Regions from separate parts of the Homo sapiens genome. Here region 2 is linked to region 1. The links are contacts of gene promoters, found by promoter capture Hi-C in human tissues and cell types (Jung and others, 2019). All regions are on one chromosome and are shown on one strand. Each heading gives the region's core, a stretch centred on a gene start or on the middle of the fragment in contact. The rest is flanking DNA. Distances are from core to core; before and after follow the strand shown. Region 1 holds the start of NME9 (NME/NM23 family member 9). Region 2 overlaps ARMC8 (armadillo repeat containing 8).

The links. Contacts are between HindIII fragments. The study calls those that stand out against the background at their distance.
Region 2: a fragment that was not itself captured here is called in contact with the fragment with the promoter of NME9 in region 1 in 4 of the 25 tissues and cell types used here (aorta, mesendoderm cells, pancreas and 1 more).

Annotation. Positions count from the first base shown.
Region 1 is chr3:138,328,539-138,333,824 of GRCh38, forward strand. NME9 (NME/NM23 family member 9) reads right to left here and starts at 1,313. Exons shown (of 11, transcript NM_001349018.2): 1 at 765-1,313. The coding sequence starts at 797. It overlaps LOC124909438 (a long non-coding RNA gene), which reads left to right and starts at 1,395. Exons shown (of 2, transcript XR_007096113.1): 1 at 1,395-1,632. The HindIII fragment of the contact is 18,429 bases long and covers 1-5,286 here.
Region 2 is chr3:138,240,009-138,245,491 of GRCh38, forward strand. ARMC8 (armadillo repeat containing 8) reads left to right here. Exons shown (of 22, transcript NM_001363941.2): 11 at 1,775-1,975; 12 at 5,080-5,175. Among named protein-coding and RNA genes, the nearest start is that of ARMC8, 55 kb to the left of the region's middle. The HindIII fragment of the contact is 4,392 bases long and covers 21-4,412 here.

The sequences.
Region 1 (5,286 bases), core at 63-2,562:
ATCTTACTGGGGCCAGCTGATGATGAGGCATTTTAAGTTCGTTTTAAAATGTTCCCATGTTGCAGATCATCCAGCTGATCTCCTTATGACCAAGCACTCTCTCCTAATTCCAGGGTCTATGCCTGCATGTTTTTACCATCACTTCAGAATCAACCACTATCTATTGTCCAGGACCAAGAAGAAGAGCAGCTGCTGGCTTCTGAATTCACTTGTCCCACATGCAAATGAAGTAAGACACTCTATATAACATATGTCCAGCACATAATATATCTCAAAACATATTTGTTAATAAGTGAAATTTGATGAGAACAGTGGTGGGAAAACTGGGTCTCCACAGAGCACACAGTTACAGACTCATGCCCAAAGTCAAAAGAACCTATACTGTATTCTCTGTGCAAGCTGCAGTTGTATTTCAACAAGAACAAAATAACGGTCACATCGAGTTATGTTGATTCGTATTTTCTTAGTTTATAGTTTTATTTAATGCATGTTTAGGTTTTATGGTTGTATAAGCACTATAAATGTAAACAGCTTCTACTCAGTTTTGTTTGCATTAATTTTGTTTGCGTAAAATTTGTCATCACTGGGGTTCCAAGATAAGTTTTGTCCCTTTAAGACGGAAGGGTACATCACTCAAGTTTGAGAACACTGTCACGTACTGCTGGCAAACAGAATGTCACTTTTATACTGCAACCCCGCTCTAATCACCCTCCTCTTCCCCGAGCCCAACCCAGAGCTGGAAGCTAGCGCCCCTTGAGGCTTACCTGCAGGGCAATTTCCTTCTTCCTGCTGCCCATGGCTCTGCAAAGAAGACGAAGCCCTGTTACCGCGGCCGTGGGCCGTTCCCCCGCAGCCTCGCGACAAACCGCTGCGTGGATCAGCAAGCCCAGAGCCTCCTTCAGACAAGCCCCCCTCCTACGGCCCCCGGCCCCTTTTTAAGGTGCTTCTAACTGGCGGCAAATCAGCACACTGATACAAAGTGAACACCCCGCGAGGAAGCGGAGCCTGCAGTCCACGGGCTCGTGGCTCGCCGGGCGGTTTTCTGGGGATCTGCGAAGCCCCCTCCCCACCCCGGAGCCGGCCAGGGGGCGCGCGCAGAGGCCGGAGTCAGTGCGCCGGGCGCGGTGCAGCCTGTCGGGCACAGGGTCGCCAGTCGAGGAATTCTGACAAAAAAACGACATGGGACCCTGTTATCCCTGCTGTTCTTATGGATTACTGGGAAAGTGAGCCACTGCGAACGACAGGTACAAGATCTTCGACGCGCCCGGAGTCACCAACCGAGTCTGCCGCGACCTAGCCGCGGTCGTCATGGCAACCTGGCCCCCCCGCCAGGCCTGCCAGGAAAGCCGGCGGACACGTAAGCCACGCCCACTCTGGGCCCAACGCAGTCTCTCCGCGGAGGCTCTGAACCCAGCCAGGGAGAGGCAGGAGGGAGTCCCGCCCCTTGCCCTCCATATCGGACCATAGGAACCCACTCATTGGCTGCAGTGTTTGTCAGCGTCTGGAGGCTTCGAACCCACCAAGCAAAGACCCAGTGCATCTGTGCGTTGCACAGTCGCATCTGTGAATCCCTGCATCCCTCCTGCCCTGCCTGCCAAGACTGATGTGCAGCTTTTCTACCATCACATACCGGTATAATGTGTGCAAGGTGGGGGGTGTCTCCAGGTTTTGAGGGATCTGCAAGCGTTCTCTTTAAGGCAAAGAATATGAAATTACAAATTCAAAATTAGATATGAAAGTCAAGTGAGACACATACAAAACAGTTACAGACATTGTAGATATTAATCCAACTGTATCAATAACCACTTTAAATGTGAATAATCTGATTACACCAATTAAAAAAGAGATTGTCAGAATGGATTTCAAAAACAAACAAAGCCCAATCGTGTGTTATCCACAAGAAAATACATTAAAAGCAAAAGGATAGAGAAAGCTATACCAGGCTGACACTAATTAAAAAAATAGCTGAAGTAGGTATGTTAATTTCAAGAAAAGCAGACTTCAGAACAAGGAAATTTATCAGGTATAAACAGGGACATTACATAAAGTTAAAGGGATCAGTTATTTGGGAAGACATAACAATACTTAATATGTATGTACTTAAAAACAGAGCACCGAAATATGTGAGGCAAAAGAAGATAAAACTGCAAGGAAAAATAGGTAAACTCAGTATTATAATAGAATGCTTTCATACCATTTTTAAAAAGTAATTAATACATCCAGCAGAAGCAAATGAGCAAGGATATAGTTGAACTGAAAAATATCAAATTGATCTAATTGACATTTATGCAATATTTAGTTCAACAACAGCGGAATATAGATTCTTTCTCAAGCTCACATGGGACATTCACTGAGATAGACCACAATCTAGGCCATAAAACATAGCTTAACAAATTTAAAAGGATAGAACAAAGTATGTTCTCTGACTGCAATAGAATTAAACTAGGAATCAATCACAGCTGATGAAAGAGATCTCACAGATTTAAATAAATGAAGAAATATTCCGTGTTCATGGATAGGAAGAATTAATATTGTTAAGATATCAATTCTTCCTAAGTGAAGCATACACCAAATGATTTCCATCCAGGGAGTGCTGATACCCTGTTTGGCCATGAGGTACCCAGCAACCCTCTGTGAAGTACAGGGCGATGGGTATACTGGAGACCGAACATCTTCCTACCTGTCATCCTGCCTTCTCCCACTTCAGCTCCGAATCCACCTACTCTTTTCTTGCATTCAGTCCCATGGCAATATTCAGTTCCATGATAATATTACGCAGAGCCACAGGCAGTCCTTAAGACACCACATTGCAAACTGAGTTGACTAGATGCAAATCATGTTCATTGCCACAAGGTGGTGGTTGCTGAAGCTCTTGAATGGTGTGGAATCTCCCTTAGAATTTAGTTTCCAAAATAAAATTCAAATCAGATGCTAAATTCCTCTTGCCAGCACATGGAAAGATAGTGACATTTATTCTTTCTGAAAGGGTTAAATTTCTTACCATGTGGTCTCTATTACAAAATGTACTCACATCTTTGCCAGGCTAAACCTCAGAAACAAATTTAGGTAAACCACATGTCCCAGTTTGCCTGGGACACCCCCACTTTTCACCTGTTGTCCCATGCAATTATTAATAGCAACCCCTCTCACTTTCAAAAGTGTACAGTTTGGGTAGGGTGCAGTAGCTCACGCCTGTAATCCCAGCACTCTGGGAGGCCGAGGCAGGTGGATCACTTGAGGGCAGGAGCCTGGCCAACATGGTGAAACCCTGTCTCTACTAAAAAAAAGTATCAAATAACTGGGCCTGGTGGTGCATGCCTATAATCCCAGCTACTTGGGAGGCTGAGGCAGGAGAATCACTTGAACCCAGAAGACGGAGGTTGCAGTGAGCCAAGATCGTGCCACTGCACTCCAGCCTGGGTGACAGAACAAGACTCCATCTCAAAGAAAAAAAAAATTACAGTTTGGACAACATGGAACCTCATCAGTTTTTTCCCAGATGAATCACCTTGGGCCACTCCTGCTTTTTAATAAAACTTCCATCTTTTACATGTTTTGTGACACAGGTGAATGGTTTTTTTTGTTGTTGTTGTTTTTGTTTTTTTGGTTTTTTTTTGAGACAGAGTCTTGCTCTGTCACCTGGGCTGGAGTGCAGTGGCGTGATCTCAGCTCACTGCAACCTCCGCCTCCCGCGTTCAAGCAATTCTCCTGCCTCAGCCTCCCGAGTAGCTGGGACTACAGGCATGTGGCACTATGCCCAGCTAATTTTTGTATTTTTAGTAGAGATGGGGTTTTACCCCGTTGGTTGGCCAGGATGGTCTAGATCTCTTGACCTTATGATCCGCCTGCCTCAGCCTCCCAAAGTGCTGGGATTACAGGCATGAGCCACTGCTCCCCGCTGGGTCAGTGTTTTTATTTATTATCCAAAAGTCAGATTTTTTCAAATGTATCTATTTTTAATCAGCCCTTCCCTCAGTGATGTACTTTTTTGTTTGTTTTATTTTAATGCAAAACCTGCTAACTAAATTTAAGGGCTACTGAGGTGTTTTAGAGTTCAAAAGATTAAAAACCAAACTCTTCCTCCTGCAACTCATGTTTATTGCCACAAGGTGGTGGTTTACTCAAAATAAACCCTTCTGAGACCCAAATTGGACACTAGGAGCATTTTCTTTATCAAAATGCTTCAGAACTGATGTGACTCTGTAAAACAAGAATGACCCTCCTCACTTTAAGAGGAAATCATAGACCAAAGCAGGCTGTGCTTCCTCGGATGCCTTCCCGTTTTTCATCGTAGAAGATAAGAATGTATATACACATCTTCGTCTAACCTAACTCCTCTCTCCTTCCAGGTGTAATGTCTTCTTTTTTCCACAAGTAACAGCAGGTCCCTCCTGTGCCTTGCTCTGAGGAAGGCAGCTGGGAGTGGTAGAACTGGGAACTTTAGGGTCAGACAGATGTGGGCTGGATCACAGATACACCTACTACCTGTCTAAGCTTGGGTGAAGCTACTTCAGCTTATTCAGTCAGTCTTAGTTTCCTCATCTTTAAATTTTTTTTTTTTTAAAGAAATGGGGTCTTGTTATGTTGCGAGGTGCCTGGAACACCTAGGCTCAAGCAATCCTCCCACTTCAGCCTCCCAGGCAGCTGGGACTGCAGGTGTCCACCACCATGCCCGGCTTGTTTCCTCATCTTTAAACAGGGAAATAAGACCTACCTTTCAGGAATGTTGTGGAGAGAGGTAATGCGTTTCAAAGTTTCTTGACATTAAAACCAGTATTACTGTTGGCCGGGTGCAGTGGCTTACGCCTGTAATCAGTCCCAGCACTTTGGGATGCCAAGGCGGGTGGATCACGAGGTCAGGAGATCGAGACCCTCCTGGCTAACGTGGTGAAACCCCGTCTCTACTAAAAATACAAAAAAAAATTAGCTGGGCGTGGTGGCGGGCGCCTGTAGTCCCAGCTACTCGGGAGGCTGAGGCAGGAGAATGGCGTGAACCCGGGAGGCAGAGCTTGCAGTGAGCCGAGATTGCACCACTGCACTCCAGCCTGGGCAACTGAGCAAGACTCCATCTCAAAAAACAACAACAACAACAAAAAACCCAAAAAACAGTATTATTGTTGTTGTTGTGAAGGTATCATGCCCCCTTTCCACAGTATAGATACGTTGGGCAGCAGCTTCCCAGCCAAGGATTGCAAGCCATAACTCCCCAGGAGGTTCATCCAAGTTGTTGTGTGGATCAATATTTTAATTCCTTTTTATTACTTCGTATTCCATGGTCTCAGTATA
Region 2 (5,483 bases), core at 967-3,466, 88 kb before region 1:
TGAATTTAGAAAAACCTGGAGAAAAGACCAGCCCTAAAAGTCCTAAAACCTGGATTCTGGTTTTAGCACTCCCACCTCTGACTGTACATCCTTTATTCTTTTGATGCCTCGGACTCCAGATTATGAAAATTGAAGCAATAATTCCTGCTCATCTATGCACAGGGTTATTGTGAGGATAACAATATATTAAATACATTAAAATGTCTTATTAGCTATAAAAAATTAAGTATAAGTAAATTGATGATGTGTCATTTTATAAATATGAGATCTCACATTATCATTGTTCAAAAGGTGATCCCAAGGATAAAAGAGCACAAAGAAGACTAATATTTGCTTTAGTCTTTGGGGAAGAGAATTAATTTAATGAGATCTGAACACTCCCTAAGTAAACAACTCTTCATAGAGTGCCACGGACTTCCATAGCATTTATCTTGATTTATTTACTTCTCTAACCTTCCTCTTTTTCTGCATTGGTAAAATGTTAGTAGTATATTCTTCACATAGTAGTCATGAGCATTAGATTACATAATTCATGAATTTATGGTATCAATAAATATTAGTAACTAGTAATGTTAGGGAAAAAAGAATAGGGCCTTCCCCTTGGAAACCTAGGGTTGAATTATAAAGCTTCTACTAGCCTAATAGGAAATTAGTAGTGAACGATGAAGTGCTAAGCTCTGTGGTAAAAGATATAATAGGAACTTATTATATATAAAAGAGCAAAGCACAGTTGCCTGCAGTATTTGAGGAAGACTTTCTATAATGATAACATTTCAATTTATACTTCCACATTGTCCTTTCAAGTGGATCCGTCAGGCTTAGAAATAGTAAATGTCGTTCGAGACCAGCCTGGCCAACCTGGTGAATCCCCATCTCTACTAAAAATAAAAAATTAGCCAGGAGTGGTGGTGGGTGCCTGTAATTCCAGCTACTCAGAAGGCTGAGGCAGGAGAATTGCTTGAATCCAGGAGGCAGAGGTTGCAGTGAGCCGAGATCGTGCCATTGCACTCCAGCCTGGGCGACAGAGCGAGACTCCGTCTCAAAAAAAAAGAAAAAGAAATAGTAAATGTCTGTAATATTTTTATTGAGAACCTAATGTAGATAAGTTACCAAACCATTGCCAAGATTTTTGAGGGACCTCAGAAGTAAAATTGGACTCATGGATACCACTGCTAATTCCAGCAAGTTACTGGGAAAACCTAGCAACTGTGATACATTTCAGTTGCATTATAGTAGAACTGGTGGAATCTGAGTAATGGTAAGATCACTGCAGTTTTAAAGCTGTATTTTGTTTTGGCAACTGTAGGTATGACTCCCCAAACCAAAAAATAAACGATATTACTCACTAAGGAAGAGATAGCATACTTTTCCTAAGGCAAAATCATTCCTGATTAAACTGCTGGGTCTTTTTTAGGTAAATAAATAGATAGATAGGGCAGAACCATCAGACATGATTTGTTAGGGATTCTTAAATGTCTTTTACAAAGTTGTACAATAAAACTTGTCTTATCGGTCCCAAAAGCCTAATTAGAATTTGTATTAATATACTTTGACGTACGAATAGAGTTTAATGTGCCAGTACAAATTATTAATGTGTACTGAATTTTGCTTGTTTTTGCATTTTAAAAAAATCTTTTATTCTCTAGAAGTCAGTAAAGGAAATATATGATCATAAACATTACTCCTGATAAAAGCTATTGAGTTGATTCAGTCACTATATGCTTAAGCTTTTACCTTTACCAAAAAGCAAATAATTAATCTCACTACCTTTCAGACATTACCTTGTTTGGTTCGAATGTGCAGTAAGGAGAGATTACTAGAGGAGAGAGTTGAAGGAGCTGAGACACTTGCCTATCTGATTGAACCAGATGTTGAGCTACAGAGAATCGCTAGCATAACTGATCACCTCATTGCCATGCTTGCTGATTATTTCAAGTATCCCAGCTCAGTGAGTGCCATCACTGATATTAAAAGGGTATGTTATTTTCCTTTTTTAGCAGCTCAAGGGAGATTTTTCTAAAGTTTTTCTTACTGTTCACAGTTTTGAACCAATTGATAACTACAGCTTAAAGCCCTTTTAAATAAAGGTTCTTTTATCTTTGGTAACATAGATAATATTGCTTTGTGAATTTTTGAATCCAAGTTGTTTAATGTTTATTGTCAGAAAGTTTTTACTGAGCAGATAAGCAATAAAGAAAATTGCATCCTAACTCCCCAACTAAACCTCAAAAGTAGTGGATTCTCCAAGCTGGGTATTGACATAACCGTATAATCTTATTCTTGGTCATGGAATCATCTCTGTTGTTACATTCTCATTCTTTAGGTCAGGAGTAATCTTTTTGTTACAGGAGACTAAGTTGTCCCATGTTACTTTCCACCACAGTCTATTTTGTTACCTTTCCCTATCTTCTCTTTTTCCCAGTTTCATACTGTGCTTTGGGCCTGCTAGTGACAGCTAAAGCATCATTTAATCTTGAATTTGGGACCAAAAAGGCCAAATTGTGCTTTTTCTGAAAACCTAAGTTCCTTAGAATAGATCGGTATTTATTTTGACTTGTTGCATCTCAGCCTGTTTGCCCTATCCATTTCTTTAAGCATAGGAGATGAACATTCTGTAAGAGAAAGTTTATTCAAGGAGGTCATGGTAGAGAGAACATTGCCTCTTAATTAGTAGCCAGTACTGTTTCATGAATGTAACTGTATTTTTCATGCCAGTGGTTCCAATGGTAACTATTCTCCTTTTGACCTCTCCCTCATGCTTTTGAGTTTCAAAAAACCTCATTTGGTAGGCAGTTGTTCATTTGGCTTTTAACTTTGAAAATAAAGCAAACTATTAAGGGTATATCTTTACTCTGTCTTAAGAAGGGCCTAAAATAACCTTCACTGGTATTTGTATTAGTAATGTACTCTACTCTCTGGGTATTAAACTTATGTGTCTGCTCTTCTTTCAGTAGTGGTGTTTTTCCAGTAGAAGTGATGGGTTACATACATTTAACCAGTTGCCTTGTCTGTTTTCCTTCTGGTCATTTTTTCACACTGACACTGTATCTTACCAATACAAAGATACATGAGCAACCCTTAGCTACTGCCTCATGAACGCCCTGAGTTGACCACCCCAGGAAGGCAAATAAAATGTTTTGATGGCCATGAGAGTAAGGAAACAATTTTAAGAACATGTAGCCTATGCATATGCAAATCATTTAACTAGTACGTAGATTATCCCTTCTGTTAGTTTTTCCATTTCATTTCCATCAGAGTAAAACTGTAACAACAATAATCCTTAAAAATGACATCGTAATACCAAACTTGAGTAATAGTTTGTTTTGTCATCTTTATTTTTGATGATGGATTATCCAAAGGTTTCTGACCCGAAAAGTATAGACACTAGACCCGTAAAGAGAAATCTTCACATGTTAATAAATTTGTGATTTTCATGATATGTTAGTTCAAGTCAGTATTATATCTTAATTTATGACTAGAATGTAGTTAAGACTTTAAGAGTAGATACTTTTAGAACTTATCAAAGTGAGTATTCTGTATTGGGAAGTTCTTCCTATAATCCATCAGTGTCTGCTTTGAACAGAAGTTTTGGAACTATTAAGAATTGCCTTCAGAGCCACCCCAAATTATATATATATGTAAAATATATATATTGTCTTTTGCTTTCTGTGGAATTTTTTGTTACCTACGTTATATTACCCAACTGAATTTCTCCATCTTCACACACAGTCAGTGACAACTAAAAGTCTCATCATTGATCAAGCTATACCACTGTCAGTGTTTTCTAGCTAATAATACCAGTTAGCTCTTTAGGAAGTTTCAAAAGAGGGTCTCAGAATGTTATGAACAACACCTACATCATTGGATGAGTGAACCTTTCCAAAGTAACTTCTTTGGGAAAAGTGGTATTCATTTGGATGATTACATTAAGGCTTTTAGTTACGAGGTTATTTATATTATTGGTAGACTTTGTATAGTTACTTGGTCATAGTCAGTCATTGAAAGTATCCTGAAAATATGCTTCTGTTTTATCTTTACAGTAGTTTGGTGATCAAGTTTATAGAAGAGTTGATAATTAGTTATGCATGTTTAAAGATACCATTAATTGCTTCATGCTGATAATTTTGATAATGTTCTTGAAAAAACCCATACCCAACATAAATCTCAGATAACTGTAATAGATAATAATGGTTACCATAGTATACGGTTTGTTAAGCATTTTCACAATGGGTTCTCTGTTTCTAAAAGCTTTTTATTTTATTTATTTTTATTTATTTATTTATTTTTGAGATGTAGTCTCGCTCTGTTGCCCAGGCTAGAGTGCAGTGGCGCGATCTCGGCTCACTACAACCTCTGCCTCCTGGGTTCACACCATTCTCCCGCCTCAGCCTCCCAAGTAGCTGGGACTACAGGCGCCTGCCACCACGCCCAGCTCATTTTTTTGTATTTTTAGTAGAGACAGGGTTTTATCGTGTTAGCCAGGATGGTCTAGATCTCCTGACCTCATGATCCATCTGCCTCGGCCTCCCAAAGTGCTGGGATTACAGGCGTGAGCCACCGCGCCCGGCCTCTAAAAGCTTTTTAAATGCCAAAATTAGGCCAGCACTACTCTTAATGTTTCAGAAAATTAAGGGAACCCTCCTAAAGACATTGTTGCGATTTCATTCAGGTTATCAGCTGTAGTCTGGGGCTAGAGAAGTCCAGGTGTGCCTTCTTTTGAAGGAGAACATTTCAAAGAGCTGCTGCAAGCAAGCATTAGTGCCAGTAAAGCTACCATTTAGGAACACTGAATTTTTCGGAGTCAGAGATTCACAATGGTTTTTCATATATCAGTGTCAAATATAGTGTTCACTTTTAAATGGAAGCATATTGTGTGCATTTTAGGTCACATTGATACGAACACTGCAAAGTCTCAGTGCTATGTGAACAGAATCCAAAAATAACTGGGAAATGTAGTTAATGACTGGGAAATTCACTAAAATCTAAAAGTTGTAAACTTTTTTTTTCTTCAACTCAGTTAATGTTATTGAAAGTTGAATTTATGGACTGAGTTGGAACATATCCTTTTTTTCCCCATAGCTTGATCATGATTTAAAACATGCTCACGAACTCCGCCAGGCTGCATTCAAGCTCTATGCCTCTCTTGGAGCAAATGATGAAGACATCCGGAAGAAGGTGAGTCTGGGAGAGGGGCGTCCCCCAGTCCTGACAGCCAGCAGGCAGGGAGTGACGTCAACCTGAAAGTCGTGGTGAAGAGCACTAACAGTGACTGTTTGAATATAATAAAGCAGAGTGACTAAAGGCATAATTGAAGAATGAATGGGACCCGGATTTGGGGGGTTGTTTGTTTGTTTTTAGAACATAGAGTGGCATGGCCGTGCTGGAATGACAAATAACTGGCGTGCTTTTTTTTTGTGTCATTAATATGAATTATTATGTTGCACATTTTTGCATGTGTTCTGATAAAAATCAATTCTAGCACT